Regions from separate parts of the Homo sapiens genome. Here all the other regions are linked to region 4. Evidence: promoter capture Hi-C in human tissues and cell types (Jung and others, 2019). All regions are on one chromosome and are shown on one strand. Each heading gives the region's core, a stretch centred on a gene start or on the middle of the fragment in contact. The rest is flanking DNA. Distances are from core to core; before and after follow the strand shown.

The links. The method cuts DNA at HindIII sites, captures the fragments that hold promoters and counts their contacts. A contact is called where the count stands out against the background at its distance.
Region 1: a fragment that was not itself captured here is called in contact with the fragment with the promoter of ANKFY1 in region 4 in 6 of the 25 tissues and cell types used here (aorta, bladder, heart left ventricle and 3 more).
Region 2: a fragment that was not itself captured here is called in contact with the fragment with the promoter of ANKFY1 in region 4 in 4 of the 25 tissues and cell types used here (H1 embryonic stem cells, IMR-90 fibroblasts, bladder and 1 more).
Region 3: a contact is called between a fragment that was not itself captured here and the fragment with the promoter of ANKFY1 in region 4, in 7 of the 25 tissues and cell types used here (IMR-90 fibroblasts, bladder, dorsolateral prefrontal cortex and 4 more).

Annotation. Positions count from the first base shown.
Region 1 is chr17:4,318,879-4,325,405 of GRCh38, forward strand. The region is part of intron 1 of UBE2G1 (ubiquitin conjugating enzyme E2 G1); the gene reads right to left. Among named protein-coding and RNA genes, the nearest start is that of UBE2G1, 45 kb to the right of the region's middle. The HindIII fragment of the contact is 4,632 bases long and covers 688-5,319 here.
Region 2 is chr17:4,299,294-4,305,268 of GRCh38, forward strand. All of the region lies in intron 2 of UBE2G1 (ubiquitin conjugating enzyme E2 G1), which reads right to left. It also overlaps the pseudogene MFSD1P1. Among named protein-coding and RNA genes, the nearest start is that of ANKFY1, 38 kb to the left of the region's middle. The HindIII fragment of the contact is 3,920 bases long and covers 1,432-5,351 here.
Region 3 is chr17:4,228,583-4,235,133 of GRCh38, forward strand. All of the region lies in intron 3 of ANKFY1 (ankyrin repeat and FYVE domain containing 1), which reads right to left. Among named protein-coding and RNA genes, the nearest start is that of ANKFY1, 32 kb to the right of the region's middle. The HindIII fragment of the contact is 6,569 bases long and covers 1-4,759 here.
Region 4 is chr17:4,260,045-4,266,396 of GRCh38, forward strand. It overlaps ANKFY1 (ankyrin repeat and FYVE domain containing 1), which reads right to left and starts at 3,935. Exons shown (of 25, transcript NM_001330063.2): 1 at 3,888-3,935. The coding sequence starts at 3,897. RefSeq lists a silencer at 3,232-3,381 and an enhancer at 4,032-4,121. The HindIII fragment of the contact is 4,200 bases long and covers 860-5,059 here.

The sequences.
Region 1 (6,527 bases), core at 1,754-4,253, 58 kb after region 4:
ATACATATAAAAAACCAGAAAGACTTCAGAAAAACAGTCTCAAAGAAATTACAGAAACATATTTTTAAAGAAGACCAGAAAGAAAACATTATAAAGCAACAGGAGACCTTAAAGGAAAGTGAAAAACAGACTAAAAACAAATCATGGTCATAACTTTCAGAAATCATACTTCTAATGAAAAGATAAATAGTTATTTTTAAAGAGTAAAGATAATAAACAAAGGAGATTTACATAAGTTAAACTGGCATTCCTGAAGAGATCAGAATATTAAAATGTCATAAATCTATAAAGCTTTCTATAATAATAAATATACAGATTGAAAACATATCCCACAACTCAGAAAAAACTGGTACAGAATAAACAATAAAACATCTGTCAAATGAGGCACTGAACTTTAAAGTTAAATAATATCAAGGATATTCAGGAAGGGAAAAAACAAGTCCAGTATAGGTGGGTGGGTGGAACCAACCAGGTTAGCCTCAGATTTCTCCACAATACTCATTGTAGGTAAGTAACAGTGACGTGAAGAAATACGGAATCCTGAAGAAGAATGTGATAAAAAGAATGAGAAATGCAGCCAGGCATGGTGGCTCATGCCTGTAATCTCAGCACTTTGGGAGGCCCAGGCAAGTAGATGCTTGAACCCAGGAGTTCAAGACCAGCCTGGACAACACAGGGAGACACCACCTCTACAAAAAATACAAAAATTAGCTGGACATGGCGGCAAGCGCCTGTGGTGCCAGCCACTCAGGAGGCTAAGGTGGGCAGATCACTTGAGCCCAGGAGGTCGAGGCTGCAGTGAGCTGTAAGCATGCTGCTGCACTCCAGCCTAGGCACCTGTGTCGAAAAAAAAAAAAGAGAGAGAGAGAAGCCCAAACAGGAAGTCCAAATAAGATGGTAATACACATTTACATGTATTGTAAACTTTAAGGACTTAAGAAATGGTACTTTTTGAATTAAATGCTGCGAAATCAATCAAAATAAAGAATTCAGTAACAGAAAAACGCAGGTGAAAGGGACCAGTGTAGTTACCAACCCCATGTAAATGCATAAATAAAACCAAACCACCATGAATGCTATAAGCTTTTATATATATATATTTAATAATATATGCTGTCATTGCCAAGTGGCACACGTGTGTGTGTGTGTGTATTATTTTCTTGTTGCCATTGGTCCTATTTTTACATTATCAGGATTTATATATAAATTTACATTGTCAGGATTTTACATTGTTATTTTCTGTATTGTCGTAATTTTACATTATCAGGATTTCTATGTTAAAAAAGAATAACCAATTACTAAATATATCTATATTTATGATTAGAAAATGGGAAGGGAATGGAGGGAAAGGGAGAGAGGTACTAAGGAATACATATGTGTTTATTCCCTCATCCTGGACATCAGGAAGTCAGTGGGTTCTATCAAGAGTCTCAAAACTATTTAGAGGTTTTTATAGATTTTCTTCTCTCAACTTTAGGACTCTTTTAGAAATTAATCTCTTCTTGCGATAAATGTCTATCTATAGGTCAATAATTTCTTCAATATTACCTTAGCTGGGTTGTCATTCATATGCAACTTGCAACTTAAAGTATATAAATGGCACATCTATTACAACCTCAGATTTCAGCCCGCATGCATGCACTGAAAGGTGGATGCAAGGATGCCCAACGTTGGGAGACATCTGTAGGTGGTGGTTGTTATTACTAAGTAGTAGAATATTTTCAACTTTCTTTTATGTACTTTGATTTTTTAAATTATGAAAAAAGGCCATGTATCCTAAAGTAACATAGGAAAATAAAATAGAAGGCATTAGACACTACCTTCTTGCTCTCCAAAGACAACCACTGCTAACAATTTGCTGTGTATTCTTTCAGACTTAGGCTACACCACCATATACTATACAGAAATGGAATCATCCTTGTATAACTGATGGCCACTTAGCATAGTCTGAACACTAGATAACTCGTTCCCACCACCATACCTCTTTTCGTTTTCCCCCTCAAATATAAATAATGCTGCCTAGGTATGAGCTGAGAGGAGTGAAAAAAACAAAAAGTAAAAAAAAGAAATTATGAATATTTAAAAGTCTTTTTAAAAATAAATAAAAAGAAAAAACAATGCTGCCATTGCCAGGCGGTGTGAACCTGTAGCCCCAACTGTTCTGGGGGATGAAGAGGGAAAATCTCTTGAGCCCAGGAGAGTCTGAGGCTGCAGTGAGCTATGATCGCACCATGGCACTCCAGCCTGAACAATAGAGGAAGACCCCATCTTAAAAAAAAATTAATTTAAAAAGAATACTTTGCACTCTCCTTGTACATCTGTGGAAGTATATCTAGAATATAAACTATAAACTGAACTGTAAGTCAAAGGAACATATATATCAAGCCACAAAATGTTTACTTCAATGTATTATCCCAGAAACACTGTAGGCAACTATTTCCCTACAGCCTTGCTAACACTGGGTACTTTTACTGCTGGCTAACACTGGGCATCCTTCTGCCACTGGCAATTTATCTTTGGTGCATTTACATATTTTTATTCCCCCACCCCGTTTTTTTTACATTGAGTGATTCTCTTTTTTCTGATTATTTGGATGGGCTTTTTAAGCATTGTGGCCTTCTTTCTTTTTTTGGAGACAGAGTTTCACTCTGTGGCCCAGGCTGGAGCGCAGTAGTGTGTTCATGGCTCACTGCAACCTCCGCCTCCTGGGCTCAAGCAATCCTCCCACCTCAGCCTCCTGAGTAGCTGGGACCACAGGCACAAACCACCATGTCTGTCTTTTTTTTGTATTTTTGGTAGAGACAAGGTCTTCCTACGTTGCCCAGACTGGTCTTGAACTCCTGAGCTCGCCCCCCAACCCTGCCCACCCAAGTGCCGGGATTACAGGTGAACCCAGCCAATTTGCCCAATGTTTGTTGCTATTACTTAGAGTCTAAGGGATGAAGGCAATATTTACATTTAAACCCCTAATTTTCCTAGGCTATTAGTGTGCGATTCAAATGTGTGTCTATAAAGTTTATTATAATTAAAGCAAAAGTTTGAAATTTGAAAATTAGCAACATAATTTTTCTTTTTTATATTTTGATTGGACTAAGTGTGGTATGAAACTCAAAAGCCAAACAAGTCAGAATGACAGCTTTGTCTACATTTTGAAATGCAACAATCTGAATGACAGGTTTCTAACATATGACCAAGTATTAAACTACTTTTAATGGAAGTATAAGAAGTGGATTCACATAAAATGCACAAAGTTAAAAACTGGAACAGGTAATACAAATACAAGATGTTCTACTCACAAACACATATTAAGATGGTGTTGATTCCTCATTCCTCTAAGTAGTCTCCACCCACTTCTTGACATAAGAAAGAAAGAATAATGTAAGCAGCAGACCATGCCAGGTCCAATCCAAGATTTCTTCCAAAGGGGAACAACAGGTGTGATTATGTCAAAGTAGCTGTGATCTGCTGACACTAACTCACCCTCTGTTGTATCTTCCTATCATGCCTTGAACTCCTCCTCAAACTCTTCCCTAAGATGGCATTAGGAGATTATATTTCTCTAATTCAAATAACTATTTATTTGTATGTGCTTCTTCTCCTTATAATCACATTAGCAAAAGAAGAGAGCCCTGCTGCATGATCAGAAATGTTGTGCATGAAATATAACTTCTACTGAAAGGCATCTTGTACATGATCTTCTCCACATTAAGTAAAAATGGCTTCTAAGAAAATGGGGTGTCCTGGGAAAATACAGGTGAACCTATGTAAGAGGCCTAGGAAAGTACAAACACTGAAAGAAAAAATTGGAAGTAATGCATTTATTTAAAGGCAAGGGAACCAAAAGCTGAGCCCCTGACTTTAAGTATATCCCCTGTATCACACATAAGACTGTTTCTATGCAACAGAAATACAAATGGAAGGCAATGTTGATGTCTAACAGTTACGGTAATACTTCATACAAAAATGTATAACCACCAGCAGCATGGAACCACCGAGCACTGTGGCAACAGCAATGTGCATTTCATATCTCCGAAGTGATGGAGGTGAAAGGAGAGAAACAGGAGAATTTGGTGAGCAGCTCAGTTGCAAAGCAAGCCCTGAATTGTTTGAGAGGTTTAAGAACAGTACATAAATGCATAACATTAAATATCACTGATAAATAAATTAGCTTCTGCTGATAGCGAGACTGCAACAAACTTTCCCCCAATGAATTGCAGAAAACTATTAATAAAGGAGAAATATTGGAAAGCAAATTTATAACTGACAAAAATAGACCTTTCTTAAAGAATGCCATCTTGTGCTTTGGTAAGAAATTTAAAAAGAAAACGTGTCAGGCTAACATTGCTTTTATATTTAAAAAATTGAGCGATGTTAAGCTAAAGCCTTTGCTGATATACTCTGAAAACCCAACAATACTTAAGAGCAACCTGTAAAACAAAAGTAAGGACTCATCACAACCTATGAGATTAAATATCAATTACTGATGCCGTTTCTGATGCAGGATGATGATGAAGACAAAACTCCTTTAATTAAGGATTTTAAGGAAGAACCTAAGAAGGCATACGAATTCATCAAAATGAAAATGAATTAATCAGATAAGAAACTAGTCCCTTTCAATTTATTGCTGACCTCCAAAGTTTAGAGAAAGTCATCTCCCAAAGGAAAAATTATTAGATCTTACTAAGGAGACTGGGCTGAGAGAACAGCTTTGTCGCCCAGGCTGGAGTGCAGTGGCACAATCACAGTTCACTAAAGCCTTGACCTCCTGGACTCAGGCAATCCTCCCGAGCCTCCTGAGTAGCTGGGTCTATAGGTACATGGCACCATGCCCAATTCATTTTTATATTTTTTGTAGAGGCAGGGTTTCACCATGGGCATCATGGTCTCGAAGTGGGCTCAAGCAATCTGCCCACCTCGGCCTCCCAAAGTCCTGGGATTACAGGTGTGAGCCACTGCACCTGGCCAGTAACTAGTATTTTTAATGCTTTATATAATGGAAGAAAGGGGTGGAAATTTGTTACATAGATATATTTAGAGCATTTCATTTGCAACCCTTAATGTAATAATCCAGGCAAGGATGATCAATGGATGCTAAAACCATTAAGTGAAAAGGTCACTGGAGAACAGAATATGATGCCCAAGCATCACCCCACAGATTACTCACCAGTAAAAAGAGATAATGCATCTTCGCAACGGAGAAATCTGGCAATCACCAAATAATTGTTCGAATTTAGAACCATTAACCCAAGAATGTGTATCTTCTTATTTGATGCAAAATGGTATACACAAGCTTCATCTATGACATACTCTTGCCCCTCCCCCAAAATGTTTACACTGAATCAAATCAAGCTTCTTAGGTTAGACCTGCACTTTCTAATATAATAGCCACTAGTCGCATGTGGCTACTGAGCACCTAAGAAGTGGCTAGTCTTACTTAACATGTGCTGCAAATGTAAAATATAAACTGGATTTTTGAAGACTTTGTGAGAAAAAAGTTATGCTGATTCCATCTTGAAATTATATTTTGGGTATATTGAGTTAAATGAATTATTAAAATGAATTTTACCTATCTTTTTACATTTCTAAATGTGGTTACAATTTTAAAATCACACATTAGGCTTTCATGTGTGGTTCCCATGTTTCTATTAGATAGTACTGCTACAGTTTGCAGGAAATCTAGGGGATGTGGAAATAAGTGAAACAATTGCTTTATTTATAAAGTGAGATAGGGGTCTCACTATATTGTCCAGGCTGGTCTCAAACTGCTGGATTCAAGTGATCCTCCCAACTCAGCCTCCCAAAATGCTGGGATCACAGGCATGAGCCACCATGTCCAGCCAGTTAAATGATTTCTTGAGAAAATAATTAGAAAAATCCACAATGTTGAATAGGATACTCTATTTAACAACTAGTTTAAGGCCGGGCGCGGTGGCTCACGCCCGTAATCCCAGCATTTTGGGAGGCCAAGATGGGCGGATCACGAGGTCAGGAGATCGAGACCATCCTGGCTAACACAGTGAAACCACGTCTCTACTGAAAATACAAAAAATTAGCCGGGCGTGGTGGCAGGCTTCTGTAGTCCCAGCTACTCGGGAGGCTGAGGCAGGAGAACGGCGTGAACCCAGGAGGCAAAGCTTGCAGTGAGCCAAGATCGCGCCACTGCACTCCAGCCTGGGGGACAGAGCGAGACTCCGTCTCAAAAAAACCAACCAAACAAACAAAAAAAACAAAAAACAAAAAAAAAAAGTAGTTTAAAATCTTCAAAAATTCAATCTGAAGAGGATTCTTAGGGCCATCAAAGTATTCTGTATGATACTATAATGGTAAGATACACGTCAAATATTTCTCTAAACCCATAGAATGTACAATACCAAAAGTGAACCCTGATATAAATGATGGGATTGTGGGTGATGACGTGTCAATGTAGTCCATCAGTCATAACTCTATTTCAGTAGTTTTAAAACTTCAACCAACTATTTCTTCACCTGCTAGCAGTTACATGGTTTTTGTTTTTAAATAACTCTTAA
Region 2 (5,975 bases), core at 2,142-4,641, 39 kb after region 4:
GAGGCTGAGGTAGGAGAATTGTTGGAACCTGGGAGGTGGAGGGTGCAGTGAGCCAAGATTGTGCCACTGCACTCCAGCGTGGGTGCCAGAGTGAGACTCTGTCTCAACAACAACAAAAAAAGAGTCAATGTAAAAGGACATCAAAGCCACTGCCACAAAGCCCCTGCACTTGATTCTACTGGCAGCCACTTGCCACTTGATTCCTTGACAACATTAAGTCAGCTTTCCCACGTCACTTACTTTTGATTGGTTACATTCACTAAAAAGCTTCATAATAGCTGACTGGAATCCTCATCATGAAAAACTGACTTAGACCCTCTAAATTGTTTTCAATCTCTAAAATGTCAACCAAATTCAACTAAAAGAGTAGCCCTAAAAATTTAAAGCACACAATTTTCACTCTATCTGAAAATGGCCTTGCCCACTCTGAAGCAACCATAGCATTTCTGAGTTTTTCTCCTATCTGTGGACCCCTCTTCTTCTATTTTACCTGTGGAAATTCTACCTGCCCCTCCCCTCTTTTCCTTTTTTTAGTTTTTTTTTTTTTTTTGGAGATGGAGTCTTGCTCTGTCGCCCAGGCTGGAGTGCAGTGGCGTGATCTCGGCTCACTGCAAGCTCTGCCTCCCGGGTTGAAGAGATTCTCCTGCCTCAGCCTCCCAAGTACCTAGGATTACAAGCGCACACCACCACGTCCCGCTAATTTTTGTATCTTTAGTAGAGACGGGGTTTCACTATGTTGGCCAGGCTGGTCTTGAACTCCTGACCTTCTGAGCCACCGCACCTGGCCTACCTGCTTTTTTTTTTTGATGCTTAACTAACTAGTACCCAACTTGTGCGTGCAAACTTCTACCGAGCAGCCAAGTTAGCAAAGAGAAAGCCCAAAACCCATAGAGTAGAATAACACTGTAGACTACACATTAACATGTCACATATCCACTATTTTTCAAATATAGAAAGATGTGACTGTGGCCAGGCAAGGTGGCTCACGCCTGTAATCCCAGCACTTTGGGAGGCTGAGGCGGGCGGATCACTTGAGGTCAGGAGTTCGAAAACAACCTGACCAATATGGTGAAACGCCGTCTCTACTAAAAATGCAAAAATTAGCCAGGCGTGGTGGCAGGTGCCTGTAATCCCATCTACTCAGGAGGCTGAAGCAGGAGAATGGCTTGAGCCTGGGAGGCAGAGGTTGCAATGAGCCAAGATTGTGCCACTGCACTCCAGCCTGGGCCACAAAGCAAGACTCTGTCTCCAAAAATAATAATAATAAATAAATAAATAAAATAAAATTTAAAAAGGCACCAATTAATTCAAAATATCTTTCATTACATATTATCTTCATCACAGATGCTATAGTATAAGTACTATCATGATATTAAAAAGAGGTATGTAGGCCGGGCACGGTGGCTCACACCTGTAATCCCAGCACTTTGGGAGGCTGAGGCGGGTAGATCATGAGGTCAGGAGTTCAAGACCAGCATGGCCGAGATGGTGAAATCCCATCTCTACTAAAAACTACAAAAATTAGCCAGGCATGGTGACAGGTGCCCATAATCCCAGCTACTCAGGAAGCTGAGGTAGGAGAATCACTTGAACCCAGGCGGCGGAGGTTGCAGTGAGCAACAGAGTCAGACTCTGTTTTCAAACAAAAAAAAAAGAGAGAGAGAGATATGTAACCAGCAGTTTCACATTTGAAAGTGTTTAAAAACCCAGGCCTAGTTCAATTTTTTTCCATGAGGCCTCCATTACTGTTTTTGAGTTAAATTATAAAAATCTTACAAGGATCAAATCCTACCATACTGCCATATTTATTTTATGTAAATAATGTGCTGTATGCTGCCGTCTGCAATTTGCTCAACATTGTTCTATTAATCTATAGTCCTGTTGTAGCTGTCTCTTGTCCATTCATTCTATCCGCCACAGTTCACTATTATTCTATGATAGTCAGAATCACATAGTCATGTGATCACTGACTTGGCTGTGCTCCGTGGGCACTGCTTTTCTGCCAGGTCCTGGAGTTGTCACCCCTTTTGCCTCTCAGCCTCCCACGGGCGCAATGGAGGAGAAGGATGAGAAAGCATGGGTGCTGCTGGCCCTTCTGTGGCCTCCAGTCACCTGGCTATGACTTTTGATGCTGTTATTGATGTGTTTCCTTGGCTTCAGCAGCTATTTTTGCTATAATAATCCTGCTGCCCTTCAGACTCAGGATAAACGGAACAGGCAGGTGAACACCATGAAATTCATGCTGCTATATGCCTGGTATTCTTGGCCCAATGTAGTTTTGTGTTTCTTTGGTGGCTTTTTAAAAGACCGAGTATTTGGAATATGATGGGGCACAATTACTTTTAGCTGTTTTATTTGCACTGGACAGGTTGTTTTGTTCTGGGTGGAATATTTAATGTTTTTTGGCTGATGGAATTTGAAAGACTTGTGTTTGGATTGGTGGGGAGTGCTCAGCAGTTGCCCAGGACATATGCTGTCAGCTGGTTTAAAGACAAAGAATTAAACCTGGTGTCTGGACTCCAACAATTTAGCATGGCTAGAATTGGAAGTACGGTAAACATGAACTTCGTGAGTTGGCTGTATTCTAAGATTGAAGCTTCGTGGGGTTCTGCTGGTCACACAACCCCTGGGGTCACACTTAAGATTGGGGGTATAAAATGTATTCTTTCACTAATCTGTGCCTTCCTTGGCTCTTGCTTACTTAGATGCGAGAGCAGAGAGAATCCTTCATAAAGAACAACAACAACAAAAAAAGGGGGGGGAAGTTTTTACATTAACTGATGTAAAGGATTTCTCCTTACCCCTGTGGCTCATATTTATCATCTGTGTCTGCTATTGTGTTGCCATGTTCCCTTTTATTGGACTTGGGAAAGTTTTCTTTACAGACAAATTTGGATTTTCTTTCCAGGCAGCAAGTGCAATGAACAGTGTTGTATATGTCGTTATCAGCTCCCACACCCCAGTATTTGGGCTCCCAGTGGATGACACGGGGAAGAACAGCATCTGGGTTCTGCGTGTGGTTGCAGCCACTCTTGTGTCCCACATGATGCTGGCCTTTATGATGTGGAGCCCTTGGGTTGCTGTGTCTTCTGGGAATCTCCTATTCATCGCTTGCCTGTGCATTTTGGCCAACAGTGGCATCTGTAGTTCCTGAACATCAACTGGGAACTGCATATGGCTTCACGCACTCCATTCAGAATCTTGGGGTGGCCATCATTTCCATCACTGCTGGGATGGATGATACTGGACACTGGGGGATATTTGTTTTTAGAAGTTTTCTTCATTGCCTGTGATTCTATGTGACTTTTATCTGTGGTCTTACTCTATTTTGTGAATCATGCCCAGGGTGAGAACCTAAATTATTCCACAAGACAAAGGGAAGAAATAAAATTTTCCCATACTTAATAAGTTTAAATGACTGTGTCATGAGAATGGGCTTTTGCACATCACTGGTTTGAAAATCTCCATTTTTAAAAATTTAGAGTTTAGTCATGAGAAAAAAAATAATGGAATGGCAAGTTGTATTTATATCCAAATACACCTATTTCAAAGTGTATTTGTGAGAACTATTTTAGCCTGTGTCTTCTGTATTGTGTGTTGCTGAAGAATTCTACAAAAGGCCAACCAACAATGAAAGGTTTAGAAAACTGCTCTGGAACATCCAGGTGAACTTCAGAAAAGAACAGTGAAAACAGAAAAACACAGGAGCTTCTTTTGAGATTGTCTTCATTAAGTATGTGTCTAAGGGATACAGCCTTTTCTTTATCTTACAGCAGAAAAAAAAAAAATTGTGACAGACATTCCCTTTCCTGGTAGGGGCATAATGCTAGAAGACATGTGAAGATATTTGTATGAAGTCTCTTTCTACTCACAACCAGTAGCTTGGGCTCTACTATGTGGTTATGTGGACTGCTGAGCAGTGACCCTTCTGAGTTGATTTTTCTGTTACTGAGTCCCCTAATCTCTTAGGGACACAAATTATAGTACAAACAGTCTGTACAGTTTTTCATATAGTCTAATTAGTAACTACAAAGTGTCCTTCGAATTATAATTGACATTTACAAAAATAAATAATAAAACTGCAAAAGGGGAAAAAATAATTTTTTTTTTGCTATTATAAGCAATAGAACATGGAACATTTGAAACATTTCCTAAGCATAGGGTTTTTACCCTAGAAATGAAACTGCTAAGACCAAATTTAAGTAATTGTTCAAAGTCACTCAACTAAGAAGAGTGGTAGAGTTAGAGAGCTAACCAAAGGCAGTCCCCAAAGTCCATGTTCTTGAACACTACGTGATAAACCGCATGGCATTACCACTGATCATTCCATTTCCAAGCAATGTAGGCACTAGGTTCATTCCCTCCAGAACTTCATTACAGAAGAGATGGCTTCTGCCTCTATGTCTCACACAGGACTGGAAAATAATTTATAACTGGAATAGAATTTTGCAACTGTAAAAGAATGTAATTCAGAGTTTTGGTTAACTGATTCTTCATTTTCTATATCTACCCAAGGCAATACTACAAAACACATAATCTTAAGATTCTCCAGATTTTTCATATCATTGCCAGTGCTTAAAAACAAAATAAATAAATAAGACATACTCCTTGAACAGACCAGCCACTGGTGATGAAAGGAAAAGAGAGATAAAAGTTATACAGTCATCATTCATTAATAATTTATAAAATGTTATAATGATACAGTGATATCCAGGTTTCTTAGACTTTCTGGTTTTGTTTGTTTGTTTAAGACAGGGTCTAGCTCTGTTGCCCAAGCTAGAGTGCAGTAGCGTAATCTTGGCTCACTGCAGCCTCCACCTCCTGGGCTCAGCCTCCTGACTGCAGGCATGCATCACCATGCTTGACTTATTTTTGTATTTTTTTTTGTAGAGACAGGGTTTTGCCATGTAGCCGAAGCTGGTCTCCAACGTCTGAGCTCAAGCGATCCACCCTTGGCCTCCCAAAGTGTAGGGATTATAGACGTGAGCCACTGTATCCACCCTAAACTTCCGTACTACAAACCTATTGCCACTTCTACCTGAAATTTTAATTTCTGTGGATATGAGTGGTTATCCATACTGTTTGATAATCAGTCTGAAAACAGTTGGTATACCACACCAGTTTCAGAATGTACATTTCATAGAAAGGCCTTAGGGACTACTGCACTGGAAAGACTCATTAATAAAAATAAAAATGTAATGCTATATAAATATGAGTATGACTGAATTAAGACTTGTGGCAACTATAGGAGTCTCAAAGTAATCCTTGAACGGTACCGGTTATCAATCACATAGACTGAAAAGAGAGTGGAGCGCCCTCTAGTGACTACATGAGGGCTAATGATGGCACAGAGAGATAATCACAGCAGCTTTTACAGAATTTTGGTACAGTATTTCTATTATCTAATTATAAAGTGGTGAATTAATCACTTAGGTCTGGGTACCATCTGAGCCTATACTAATTTATTTTCAATCCTATAACACCCCTCCCCCCAGCACAAGCCTCTACTTCCCTTCACAGGCAGTTATTTAAACGTAAGGTGTATATATTCACTTCCAATAGTGCTCTTCAAACAATTCCAAGATGGCCTCTACTCTCTCCATTCCACTGAAATAATTACAAGAACCTCACTACTTTCTGCTAAGAAGTTTTTTAAGAACTTTTTTTTTTTTTTTTTTAGATAGAGTTCTGCTCTTGTTGCCCAGGCTGGAGTGGGTGACACGATCCCGGCTCACTGCAACCTCTGCCTCCTGGATTCAAGCGATTCTCCTGCCTCAGCCTCCCGAGTAGCTGGGATTACAGGCATATGCCACCTCACCTGGCTAAATTTTTTGTATTTTTAGTAGAGACAGGGTTTCTCCATGTTGGTCAGGCTGGTCTCCAACTCTCGACCTCAGGTGATCCTGCCCACCTCGGCCTCGTGAGCCACTACGCCCGGCCGACAACAAATATTTTTTAAGCATTCTATGAAGTAC
Region 3 (6,551 bases), core at 225-2,724, 34 kb before region 4:
TTTTTTGTATTTTTAGTAGAGATGGGGTTTCGCCATGTTAGCTAGGCTGGTCTCAAACTCCTGACCTCAAGTGATCCACCCAACTTGGCCTCCCAAAGTGCTGGAATTACAGGCGTGAGCCACCACACCCAGCAAGGATAGAAATGTTTATGTTGATTGTGGCAGTGGCTTCACAGGTGTATTCGTATGTCAAAACTTATCCAATTGCACACTTTTAATGTGGGCAGTTTACTGTACTTCCATTACACCTCAATTTGGAGGAAAAAGAAACCAAACTGACAGGCAGCACGGCACTGTGGTTAATGGCACGAATTCTGCAGCCAAACTACCTAGGGTTCAAATCCCGGCTCCAATCCTTGCTAACTGTGTGGAGTTAATACATAATAAAGCACTCAAAACACCACCACCACATAGTAACTGCTATGTAAAAACTTGCTATTATTACAATAGACTATTTAGAAATTGATCACAATGAAAACAGTACCTACCAAAATATTTGCAATGTAGTCAGATTCATACTATAAAAAAAAGTCATAGTCTTAACCTTATTAGAAAATGAGGCCAGGCATGGTGGCTCACACCTGTGATCCCAGCACTTTGGGGGGCCGCAGTGGGTGGATCACCTGAGGTCAGGAGTTCAAGACCGGCATGGCCAACGTGGCAAAACCCCATCTCTACTAAAAATACAAAAATTAGCCAGGCGTGGTGGCGGGCACCTGTAATCCCAGCTACTCAGGAGGCTGAAGCAGGAGAATCACTTGAGCCCAGGAGGTGGAGGTTGCAGTGAGCTGAGATCACACCACTGCACTCCAGCCTGGGTGACAGAGTGAGGCTCTGTCTCAAAAAAAAAAAAGAAAATGAGATAAAAGATAGTAATTCAACTCAAAAAGAAAAAATAATTCAAAGGAATTTCAAAGAAAGATTTAATACAGATAAAAAGAAATTATTGAATTGGCTAAATATAAATAAAAATTAAAAGAACAATGAACCTAAACCAAATCTGCAATAAGCCAACACAAACACAAACTTAACATAACCAAAGATTGGTGAGAAAAACCCAAAAGCAGTATGAGGATTAAGTAAAGAATATAACCGCAGATAAAATAGATTATTTTGAGCTCTGAGAGAATCTTTGGGCATGGGACTCAGCTGCTGGCAGGAGGCCACAAGGCTGTTTGAGTGTCCTCATGACATGGCCGCTAACGTTCCCCCAAAATGAGCAATCCAAAAGAGAGAGCTAGGAAGAAGCCACAGTGCCTTCGATGAAGCCATCTCTCAAGTCACATGCTGCCACTTCTACCACACTCCATTCATTAGAGGTGAATCAGCCTATACTGAAGAGGAGAATTTGAATCCACCTTTGCAGGGAGAAATAGCAAAGAATTTGTGAGCATATTCTTTTTTACTCCTTTTTGTGAGCATATTCTAAACTTCCCGTGGATGTCATCGAAGGAACACAGTATGATTTAATACTGAAACTGAACAGCCTTAACCTAGTAGTTCACACAGTAGCCAACAGATGTTGAATATTGCTGTGCTTCTCTTAAAAATTTAAATAGCACACAGCTCCCCGAGTACACAGTTTGGGAAACTATGCCCTTTCCACTGCAGAGTGCAAGCTTTCCAGATGGTGCTTCAGGGGATAGCTTTCCCAACCAGAGTGAAAAGGAATAAAGGAGGATGTTTTCTGCTGTTTGGAATGGCTTGACACTATCCAGGACACATTCCAGGAGAGCTGAATGACTCATACCCTGAGCCCTTATGCCAAGGAACTGTAAGATCTTTGCTTGAGAAAGTATGCAACAAACTCTAGCTTCAAAACAGCCATTCTAATCCATTGGAACCTCTCATCGTGTCAGCTGCTACTGGTAAAGTGCTACAGAGAGGCCATAAACAGATCATTTTGCTAGAAGCAAATTGCTTTACTTCACCAAGAAGTAAATATAATACTTTCCTTGTGGACTCAGATTTGTTATGCTTTGCTGAGCTAACAGTCATATTCTTTCTCTTCCCACTTGGTCAATCAGTATCTTTATAAACTTTTATCTTTTATTCTTTTTTATTAGGGTTTAACAGACAAAAATTATATAGAGTTAATGTATGACATGTTTTGATATATGTATGCACTATGAAATGGTTATAAGCTAATTAACATATCACTTCATATATTTAAAGATACCTTAGTAAGAAATAAAAAAGCAAATTTCTACTTTGTTTACATTTTCAGATACTTTCATACTTTGAGAAAAGCTGCAGAGCATCCCCATATGCCCTTTACTCATCTTCCCCTATTATTAATACAGCTTATATAACCATAGTACAATGATCAAAATTAGGTAACTACGTAATACATACAATACCAATACCATTAACTAATTATAGGCCCTATTTTGCCAATTTTACCAGTAATACCCTTTTTATGGCCAGAATCCAACTGAGGATTCTACACTGCATTCAGTGTTAGTCTCACCCAATCTGTAATACTTCCTAAACCATTCTTGTTTTTCATAACCTTGACATGTTTGAGAAACACTCTGGCTGATTATTTTGAGAAATGTCCCTCAATTTGGGTCTGATGTTTTCTCATGAGTAGATTGAGGTTATGCATTAATGGCAAAAATCCTATACAAGAGCCAGGCAGAGTGGCTCATGCCTGAAATTCCAACACTTTGGGTAGCCAAGGCAGGAGGATCATCTGAGCCCAGGAGTTTGAGACCAGCCTTGGCAACACAGCAAGAGCCCATCTCTATTAAACAATTAGCCAGGGATGGTGGTGAACACCTGTACTCCCAGCTACTTGAGAGGCTGAGGTGGGAGGATCTCTTGAGCCCAGGAGTTCAAGGCTTCAGTGAGCCGCGATAGTGTCACTGCATTCCAGCCTGGGCGACACAGTGAGACCCTATCTCAAAAACAAAAAAAGAATCCTACAGAAGTGATTGTGCCTTCATCAGTGGATCATATCAGGTACAAACATTTCACTTTTTTGAACAAGGTATGATTCATATATCCAAACACCTTTAAAGTGTATATAATGCCTGTTGTATTTCATCAACATATGCTAAAATTCTCATAATCAAGGCTGTGTGCAGTGCCTCACACCTGTAATCCCAACAGGCCTTTGGGAGACCAAGGCAGGAGGATTCCTTGAGTCCAGGAGTTCAAGACCAGCCTGGGCAACATGGCAAAATCTCATGTCTATAAAAAATGAGACAGGCATGGTAGCACACACCTGTGGTCCCAGATACTCAGGAGGCTGAGGTGGGAGGATCACCTGAGGCCAGGAGGTCAAGGCTGCAGTGAGCCGTGATTGCACCATGGCACTCTAGCCTGGGTGACAGAGTGAAATCCTGTTTAAAAAAAAAAAAAAAAGAAAGAAAGAAATATCAATTAGACAAGAACATCAAAAAGAAAAATGTGGAGTTTTTCTTACATTCTAAGATGTAAGTTTATGCAAGCAAGAATTTAATTTTGTACACTTTGTATCCCTAACACCTTGAAAAGCGCTTACCACTCAATGTTTTTTATATGAATGGATTAATGTTGAAAAAACAAAACACCAATAAATTCATTAAATGATTTTATCAAGCCTGTTGGTGTGGAAAACATTTGAGCCTTTAAAATACAGCTTTTATGCTATTTATACACCTGTTTACAAGAACCTATTTCCAATCTTCCTCAAATTGCTGCCATGAAGTGTCAGTGCTTCCAGGTATCACATAACACACAGGCTTCCCAGGCAGTCTCAGCAACTGCAAGCCCAGGTTTAGGCAATGAGCAGGACTGCTGGGCAAAGCACACAATTCAACAGGAACAGGCCCACACATGCCACTACCACCTTGGACCTCTCCCCCATAACACATTTCAAAGATACATTTCATTAAAATGTCATAAAAAGTAAAAATGCCACATGTTCTCCTATCTGCTATCTTCACAGGTGCTTGATCTGTGAAAGCCACAAAAACCATTTACTTTGAAGCGGATCACTCCTGAAAGCAAACCTTATAGTAGAATCAAAACACGCTTATTATTTACAACTGGAGGAGAGTCTAGAGACATTTAAAGACATTAATATTCTATTTTCCTGAACTCGAGAAAACTTCCTGACTCACAGTGATGCAATCTTGTGGCCAGACAGCACTGAATTAAGGCCAGACAGCACTGAATTAAAGCTCTAAACGTTTGGATGTACTAAAAAATTTCAGTGTAAAGCAAAATTTTTTAATTCAATGTTAAAATTGGCTTTTTATTCCTTGATGTAATTTTCTGTGTTGTGTCGTTTTGTTTCAGAGAGCAGCGATGTTTCGTTTTTGCCACTCTCATTCATTTTGGTGGCAGTCGATATTTCACAATTAAAATAAAACTGAGGAACATTAACACTGTCTGAGTGACCTACGACAGTATCCCAGAAGTCAGATAATGAAGAAAAAAAAAAAAGTAGGAATATTTCACAGCTCAGCTGCCTAACTGCTTTCTAGAACTGTCATACCTATTTGTATCGTCACTGGCAAATGTACAAGAATACCACCTTCATGAGCCTCACAGCTACTAGGATCACCAATGTTTGATTATATAGATTTCAAAAGATGGTAGCTTATTCTTAACTTTTTTCTAACAAAGTCGAATATTTTCCATATATTTATTACCTTCTAGTCTTCATAAACATTCTGTTCATATAATCAAGATCCTATCACACATTTTGTGAAGAACACTACATGATCTTATAAGGTCTTCATAATTCTGTTATATATGAGGTCAAAGATACATGGTTTCAAAACACTATGCTTTAAAAAAAAAAAAAGCTATCCCTCGAGATTTCGATCACGTGGACTGGTACCCTCCCAGTAAAAAACTATTTCCCAGGCAAATGTTTTTAGTTACTGGCATGCAGGCATCTGCACATGTGTAGGTGTGTATGTGCATTTGTATCTACAACTTTTAGTTATGGACCTCAAGTTAAATCCTAGAAATTATCATAAAGAGACAGAGTTCGCTCACAGTTGGGAAACACTGATATATGTTCCCCTTAATCCATGAGATAAATGCCTACTTAGCCTTTACAACACTACTCAGGTATTAGCCACCTCTGAAACCTTCCTTTATCACCCCAACTTAGTCTGTTCTCAACCTTATATATAAGCTAACTACATTTCTGTATTTACAGCCCTGGTCTGAAATGATTTGTGAATGGCCTGTTTCCTCCAGCAGAGTACGGGCTCCGTATGGCAGGGACTGTGTTATAATCATCTCAGTGTTCCTGGCACTGCGCATGGAAAACAGTACCTTCTCAACTGACAAACCTTCTGAACAAAGATATAATTCACACAATCACTTCGGCAAGTCCAGTCATAAGCAGCATAACTATGTTTGGTCAACAACAGACTGCAGATACGATGATGGTCCCGTAAAATTATAATATTGTACTTTTACTGAACTTTTCTATGTTTAGATATACAGATACTTACCACTGTGTTACTGCTGCCTATGGCATTCAGCACAGTAACATGCTGTACATGCTGTACAGTTACACAGAACATGCTGTACAGGGTTGTAGCCTAGAAGCAACATACTATACCATATAGCCTAGGTGTGTAGTAGGCTATACCATGTAGATTTGTGTAACTATACTCTATGATGCTCCCACAACAAAACCACGTAATGACACATTCTCAGAACACATCCCTGTTATTCTCCTCACCATATAATTCTGATGAATATTAATACTAGAATTAAATTAAAATTTTGCTCTTTGCCCCTTTTTTTCCAATAGCAGTCAGGCAAGTACTAAATGAAAATGCAACCTTCAGGTCAACTTTTGAAAATGACTGTTTTCAAGTCTACTTGCCACCCTATTTGCTTCAATCCTACACAAAAAAATGTGACATAAAACAAGTAACATTAAATAGGCCAATGTAGCTATTAATTTTTTCTTTTTTTTTTTTTGAGACAGGGTCTTGTTCTGTTGCCCAGGCTGGAATGCAGTGAATGCAGTGGTGACATCATAGCTCACTGTGGCCTCAAACTCTTGGCTCAAGAAATCCATCCACCTCAGATTCCCAACAAGCTGGGACTACAAGCACATGCCATCCTGTCCAGCTAATTTTTTCTTTAATTTGCTGCAGAGACAGGGTCTTCCCAGGCTAGTCTTGAATTCCCTGGGCTCAAGTGATCCTCCCACCTTGGCCTCTCAAAGTGCTAGGATTACAGGCATGAGCCACCATACCCGGCCTTAAAATTCTTTTTTTAAAAACAAATTGTATTGTGTATATTTAAGCTATACGACACAATGCTGTGGGATACATATATAGTAAAATGAGCACTATGGTGAAGCAAATTAACATATCCACCATCTCACATAGTAACCCAAACCTATTAAAATTCTGAAGGCTAATGGTCATCTTTTGATGTTAAAGAAAGAATATTGTTATTCTTCAGAGTAACTATTCTGAGTTCAGTTCTGATAAACTAGAAAAAGTACTTTGGCCAGACACGGTGGCTCACACCTGTAATCCCAGCACTTTGGGAGGCTGAGGTGGGTGGACCACCTAAGGTCA
Region 4 (6,352 bases), core at 2,685-5,184:
CAGTGAATGAAAGTAGGAAATAAGCTCGAAGTGTTAAGTGGGGCCCACACCCTGTTAATACTTAACAGAGAACTGGAATATATTTTAAGATTACGGAGAAGTGTGAGAGTTGGGCATTGAGGGGCAGGAGTATTAAGAAGAGTAGGAGAGACATGATCTGATTGATGTCTTAAAGGGAACACTAGAAACTGTGAAATTAGGCTGTGAGAGAGCAAAATCTAGGAGGAAAAGTTAAAAGCAAACTTTTAATTGGAACCTTTTGAAGTAGTTCACTTACAAACGAAGCTTAGGGCTGGGAGCGGTGGCTCACACCTGTAATCCCAGCACTTCAGGAGGCCCAGGCAGGTGAATGGCTTGAGCCCAGGAGTTCAAGACCAGCCTGGACAACATCACAAAACCCCAACTCTACAAAAAATACAAAAATTAGCCAATGTGGTGGCATGCACATCTGCACTCCCAGCTACTTGGGAGGCTGAAGTGAGGGAATCACTTGAGCCTGGGAGGTGGAGATTGCAATGAGCTGTGATCACGCCATTGTACTCCAGCCTGGGTGACGGAGTGAGATCCTGTCTCCAAAAAAAAAAAAAAAAAAAAAAAACCCACAAATGAAGCTTAGATTAAGCAGGATAGCCACAGAGATGTAGAGTTGGGGAATAAAACTAATTTTAGGACAGACTTTAGCTAAATATATATGGTCAAATGAATAGCCATGGATAGATGGAAGGAAAGAAGGTTGTTCTCTAAACAAGTCACATAAGAAGCTGTATCCTCAGTCTCTCACGATCCTATTTACTATTCCTAGGCACTATCTCCCACATTCTCACATGGCCAACCAACCATTATCAGGGAAGTTCCCATAGTGTGTTTACAGATCATTCAAGTTATATGACACAGATATCTGCTATTTATTTATATTTAAATAACTGTCTCCAAACAAGCATAGCAGGCTCTGAGAATCTGATTAAAGCACAAGCAGTAGTATTAATATCCCAAGAAACATTTTCTACCTAATCTTGCCTTCCTTTGCATAGCAAGCACCTTCAGATTAATAAGCTAAATGACCCAGAATGCCTCCTAGTTGAAGTCTGCAACATCGTTTCTAAAAAGCTTAAATCCCAACAAAAAGTTGGGACACAAAAGAGGTAAAAGAAAAACTGTGGCCGGCCGGGTGTGGTGGCTCACACCGGCAATCCCAGCACTTTGGGAGGCCGAGGCCGGCAGATCAGCTGAGGTTGGGAGTTCAAGACCAGCCTAGCCAACACAGTGAAACCCCATCTCTACAAAAATTAGCCGGGTATGATGGCGGGTGCCTGTAATCCCAGCTACTTGGGATGCTGAGGTGGAAGAATCGCTTGAACCCAGGAGGTGGAGGCTGTGGTGAGCCAAGATTGCGCTATTGCACTCCCGCCTGGGCAACAGAGCGAGACTCCCTCAAAAGGAAAGGGGAAGGGAAGGAAAGAAAGACTGTGAAGTCAGAACTTCATGACTGCTTACCTAGCTATCCCCCTGCTAATTTAACCCTGAAAGGATGTCTTCTTCGTGTGTTTATGGAGAGACACCCCACTGGCGAGATGTCTCTCAAGGCGCTTGCCGGATGATGAGTATGCTGACTCAGCCTGTATGAGCTCCTCAGGGCTGGAACCCGACTGCAAAGCACAGCAGGTGCTCAGTAAAGCTGCTGAATGAAAAACCAGCAGCCCTCCACAATCTCAACCTTGCTAATGTATTCCCAAAACACCGAACTTACCTTCCTAAGTGCAAAAGCGCCAGACTACCCCTTACCTCACAGAAGACCTTCCTGAACCTTTCTACCCGCCTCACTCCTGTGAGCAACAGCTGTCTGCTGTGTACAACATTCCGTGATTTACTCAAAAAGCAACTTCAGGGAATCCCTTGGGTTTTTGCTCCTTTTCTTACTCCTCTGCCTTCAGGCAATATTCACCTAAAGTTTCCCCCTCCAGGGATATGGTAGAAAAAGTAAAGACAAAAACTGGGTGCCTGCCGGGCGCGATGGCTCATACCTGCAACCCCAGCACTTAGAGAGGCCAAAGCGGATGGATTGCTTGAGCCCAAGAGTTGGGAGACCAGCCTGGGTGACATAGTGTGACCTAGTCTCTCTCTTTTTTAAGACAGGATCTTACTCTGTCGCCCAGGCTGGTGCAGTTCACTGCAACCTCCGCCTCCCGGATTCAAATGATCCTCCCACCTCCCTAGTATTACTGCGAGGACCACAGGCACCCGCCATCACTCCATTCACTCCAGGCTGGAGTGCAGTAGCACGATCTCAGCTCACTGTAACCTCCGTTTTCCGGGTTCAAGCGATTCTTGTGCCTCATCCTCCCGAGTACCTGGAATTACAGACACGTGCCACCACACCTGGCTAACTTTCGTATTTTTTGTAGATACGAGGTTTCGCCATGTTGCCCAGGCTGCTCTTGAACTCCTGGCCTCAAGCGATCCTCCCACCTCGGCCTCCCAAAGTGCTGAAATTACTAGCGCGAGCCACCACACGGGGCCAAGACCTTGTCTACACACACACACACCCCTTTTTAATTAGCCGGGTGTGGTGGCGAGCGCCCCTGGTCCCAGCTACTCAGGAGGCTGAGGCAGAAGGATCGCTTGAGCCCAGGAGACTGAAGCTACAGTGAGCCGTGACCGCGCCACTGTACTCCAGCCGGTGGGACAGAGCGAGACCCTATCTCAAAACACACACACACACCCCCCAAAACCAACTGGGTGTCAGTCACAGCTATCTCTGTAACTTTGCCTAAATTCCTTTATCAATAAAGGCAAATACACACGCCAGGCCTCCTTCACGAGGTTATCTGAAGTCTAATGCAAATGAGAAAAGCCGACCAACTGTCAGGTGCTGCCCAAATCTAAGATCCATCAAGTGATGGGTTCAGTCAAAGCTCAAAACCAACAGGAAAGGTCGTGGCCAAGCACACTGCAGTCACTCAATAAACAAAGGTCAAATAAGGAATACTGTTCTCCAATAATGGGGTGAAGAGGAGAACCAGGCTGCCCAGATCCAACAATGTCCCTGCACGATTCCTGACAGGTAACTCCCCGTCTCTGGGCCTTCTTTCCCCCTACGTGTACAATAAGGCTTTGACAATGAAGGCTTCTAATTACTGCTACATTAAGACAGGCAGACTCTGAGAGACCAGAGTGCCTTAAGCTGCAATGTCATGAAAAGTGCACGAGACCAGAGGGTAGGCACTGGACGGGGAGGCAAAGGCACAGAGGTCTGGTTTGAGCAGCCCTCTTGTGAGCAGTGTGACCTTGGCCAACTCCCTTCCCGCAAACCCCTTCCTCCCGTCTTCATCTGTACGCCTGGCCTGAAGGCTGGGGTTGCAGCAGAGCCGGAGCCGCCAGTGCGCCCGCCTGAAGCGTGGGCCAGCTCGCTGCTGCCTCGCCCCCACCCCACCCCACCTCACCCCAACCCAGCCCGAGGAGACCCACGCTCTTCCGCAAGCGAGGGATGGACCCCTTCCGGATGCAGAACGTGCCAGGACAGCAGTTTCGATTTCCTAAGGAGAAGGCTTACTTCCCCCGGCGTCCCGGCACCGCCGGCAATCAAGAGCCTCCCGTGCTGCCCTCGGGGCCCCGCGGCTGCACGCAGCACCGGCGCGGGACCTGCCAGCCCGGCTCCGCAGCCGGCCGCAGTCCCGCGGGGTCGGCATCGCGGGAGGGACGTTGTCATAGGAACCGCGCTCCGGACCCCGGCCCGAGAAGCTCCGGAGAGGCTAGACAGGAAGGCTCGCGAGACCCGCGGAGCCCCCATGCAACCACGCCCGGCCTTCCCCTCCCACGGCAGCTTCGCACGGCCAGCAGCGCCCCCACAGCTCCGTGTCTTCCCGCGCGGCTCCACAAAAAAACCCTACCTTCCGCCATGTCTGGCCCGGCACTGCCTGCAACCTCGCGAGAAGTGCGCGGCTCAACCGGGGCGGTGCGGAACGGAATCACCAAGTCTCGCGAGAATCGCGGGAGGCGCGGCAAAAGGCGGAGCCGAGGGTAGGAAAGTGGGTGAATGAAAGCGGAGGGGGTTGCTGGACTCTGGGGGAAGCGGAGAGCCGGGTTTCTTTTTACCGGGTATTTTTGAGGCTCGAGATTTATTAAGCACTGACTGAGCCCTGTCATATTCCACGTCCTTGGCAGGGCACCGAAAAGGATGACACAACGAATGCAGACTACTCTGGAGAAGCTTGGCAATGAGAGGGTCGAGAGAGGGGGTTTGTTGGTCCTTAGGTTTGTAAAGAAAGGAGAGGCTGGGAGAAAGGAGTCAGTGGAGAGGTCCCTGGGGAGGTAGGATGCTCTGCATGCGATGCAGAACTCAGGAAAACGGATTAAATTTAGACTAGAGGCAGGTCACCTGTTATTCCACTAAAACGGTAGGAAACAAGAACATGCGTGCAGATATATAGGGGGGAAGAAAATCAGGGAGATCGTTTGATGACATCGATTTTATGGGTGAAGTTATGAGACAAGGAAGGAGACCAAGAAGAGCAAAGAAACTTTGGAAGAGGACGCTGAAGTTGGAAGGCCTGGTTTCATGTGCCTCATGTATGTGTTGATGGATCACTTTTTTCTAGAACTCAGCCACCAGGCTGCAGTAGCAGATATTTTGAATTATAGCATTTATCCAGGGCTTGGGATTGCATTGCCCAAAATAAATTGAGGGTGCTATGAGACGACAGCCCAGGCCATCAAACGTGGGATACAGACTGGCTAGGGACTGATGGAGGAGCCACGAAACTGCAGGTCTCTGATAATTGAAGGCCAGTGCAGTGCAGGCAATGTTGTGAGAGCTTGGTGGTTAAAGTGGCAAACAGGTTCATAGTGAAGTAGCACTAGGAGATGAGAAAAGTCCAGGACAGGCCGGGCGTGGTGGCTCACGCCTGTAATCCCAGCACTTTGGGAGGCCGAGGAGGGTGAATCACCTGAAGTCTAGAGCTCAAGACCAGCCTGGCCAACATGGTGAAACCCCGTCTCTACTAAAAATACAGAAATTAGCCGGGCGTGGTGGTGCATGCCTGTAATCCCAGCTACTCGGGAGGCTGGGGCAGTAGAATCGCTTGAACCCGGGAGGCAGAGGTTGCAGTGAGCCAAGATTGTGCCACTGCACTCCAGCCTGGGCAACAGAGTGAGACTCTGTCTCAAAAAAAAAAAAAAAAAGTCCAGGACAGAGCCACGGAATAGAGTGGCTGAAGTGGAAGTGAGAAGGCAGGAAAATTAGATGTTGGGATTTAGAGGTAGGAAAGGAAAGGAGCATCAGGAGCTAAAATCTTTGGTGAATGTGGGGAGGACTATACGATTAGTTAAGACAATTGCAAAATGGAGGGCTAAACAGTAACATAGCTGAATAGCATGAGACCTTTCTTGTTTTTTGTTTTTTTTTTTTTTCAGAGATGGAGTCTCTGTTGGCCAGGTTGGTCTTGAACTCCTAGTCTCAAGCAGTCCTCCCACCCCAACCTCGCAAAGTACTGAAATTACAAGCATGAGCCACCATGCCCGGCCCAGCATGAGACCTTTCAAAAAAGACTTTTACTCAAGGGAGAATCAAAAGAATGCATCAATAGTTCAGGATTGCAGGGAAAGTGGTGGCCTTGGAGGACAGCCAGGAGTAAGAGACAAAAGGTTGGAAGGAAGGATCTGAATTAGCTATACCTGGTGGTGCAGGCTTTTAGTTGTCGCTACTTGGGAGGCTGAGGCTGAGGCTGGAGAATTGCTTGAGTCCAGGAGTTTGGGACTGCAGTGAGCTCTATCCTGCCGCTGCACTGCAGCCTGGGTGACAGAGCAAGACTCTGTCTCTAAAATTAAATAAGAAAAAGAAAAGAAATTTAAAAAGAAGAATCTGAGAACAGAATAAGAGTGTCAGAAACGAAAAGGAGGATTTAAAGTTGGAGAAGCTTTAGGTGCTGTTAAGGATAAGCATTAGTGGGTAGTGAGGTGGAGTGGAGGAGGAATTTGGAGCTTAGATCGTGGGAACATAGAGTCAAGCACTGAATTTTTGAGGAAGAGTAGGAATTCTGGCTGCCAGGTACCTGGGAGATGAGAGACGGTGTTGAAACGTGTAAGCCTTTTTGTTGTGGCAGGAGACGAAAGGCACGAAGATGGTAGGGGAGAACTTTCCCTACCATGGGAAGGCCATCGCTTAAAGCGTCCCTGTCTGTTGAGAATGGTTTATAGGGGTGCCCAATGGTGAGTCTTTGGGGCCTTCAGAGTGGCCAGGCAGGCCAGGCTCCTCTGGATGCAAGCAGCCTCATCTTTTTATGGTGGAGTACCCTGCGAATATTGCCTGGGCCATAACGTAAAAGCAACATGAAAGTTGTTGTAAAGTACTGTCACA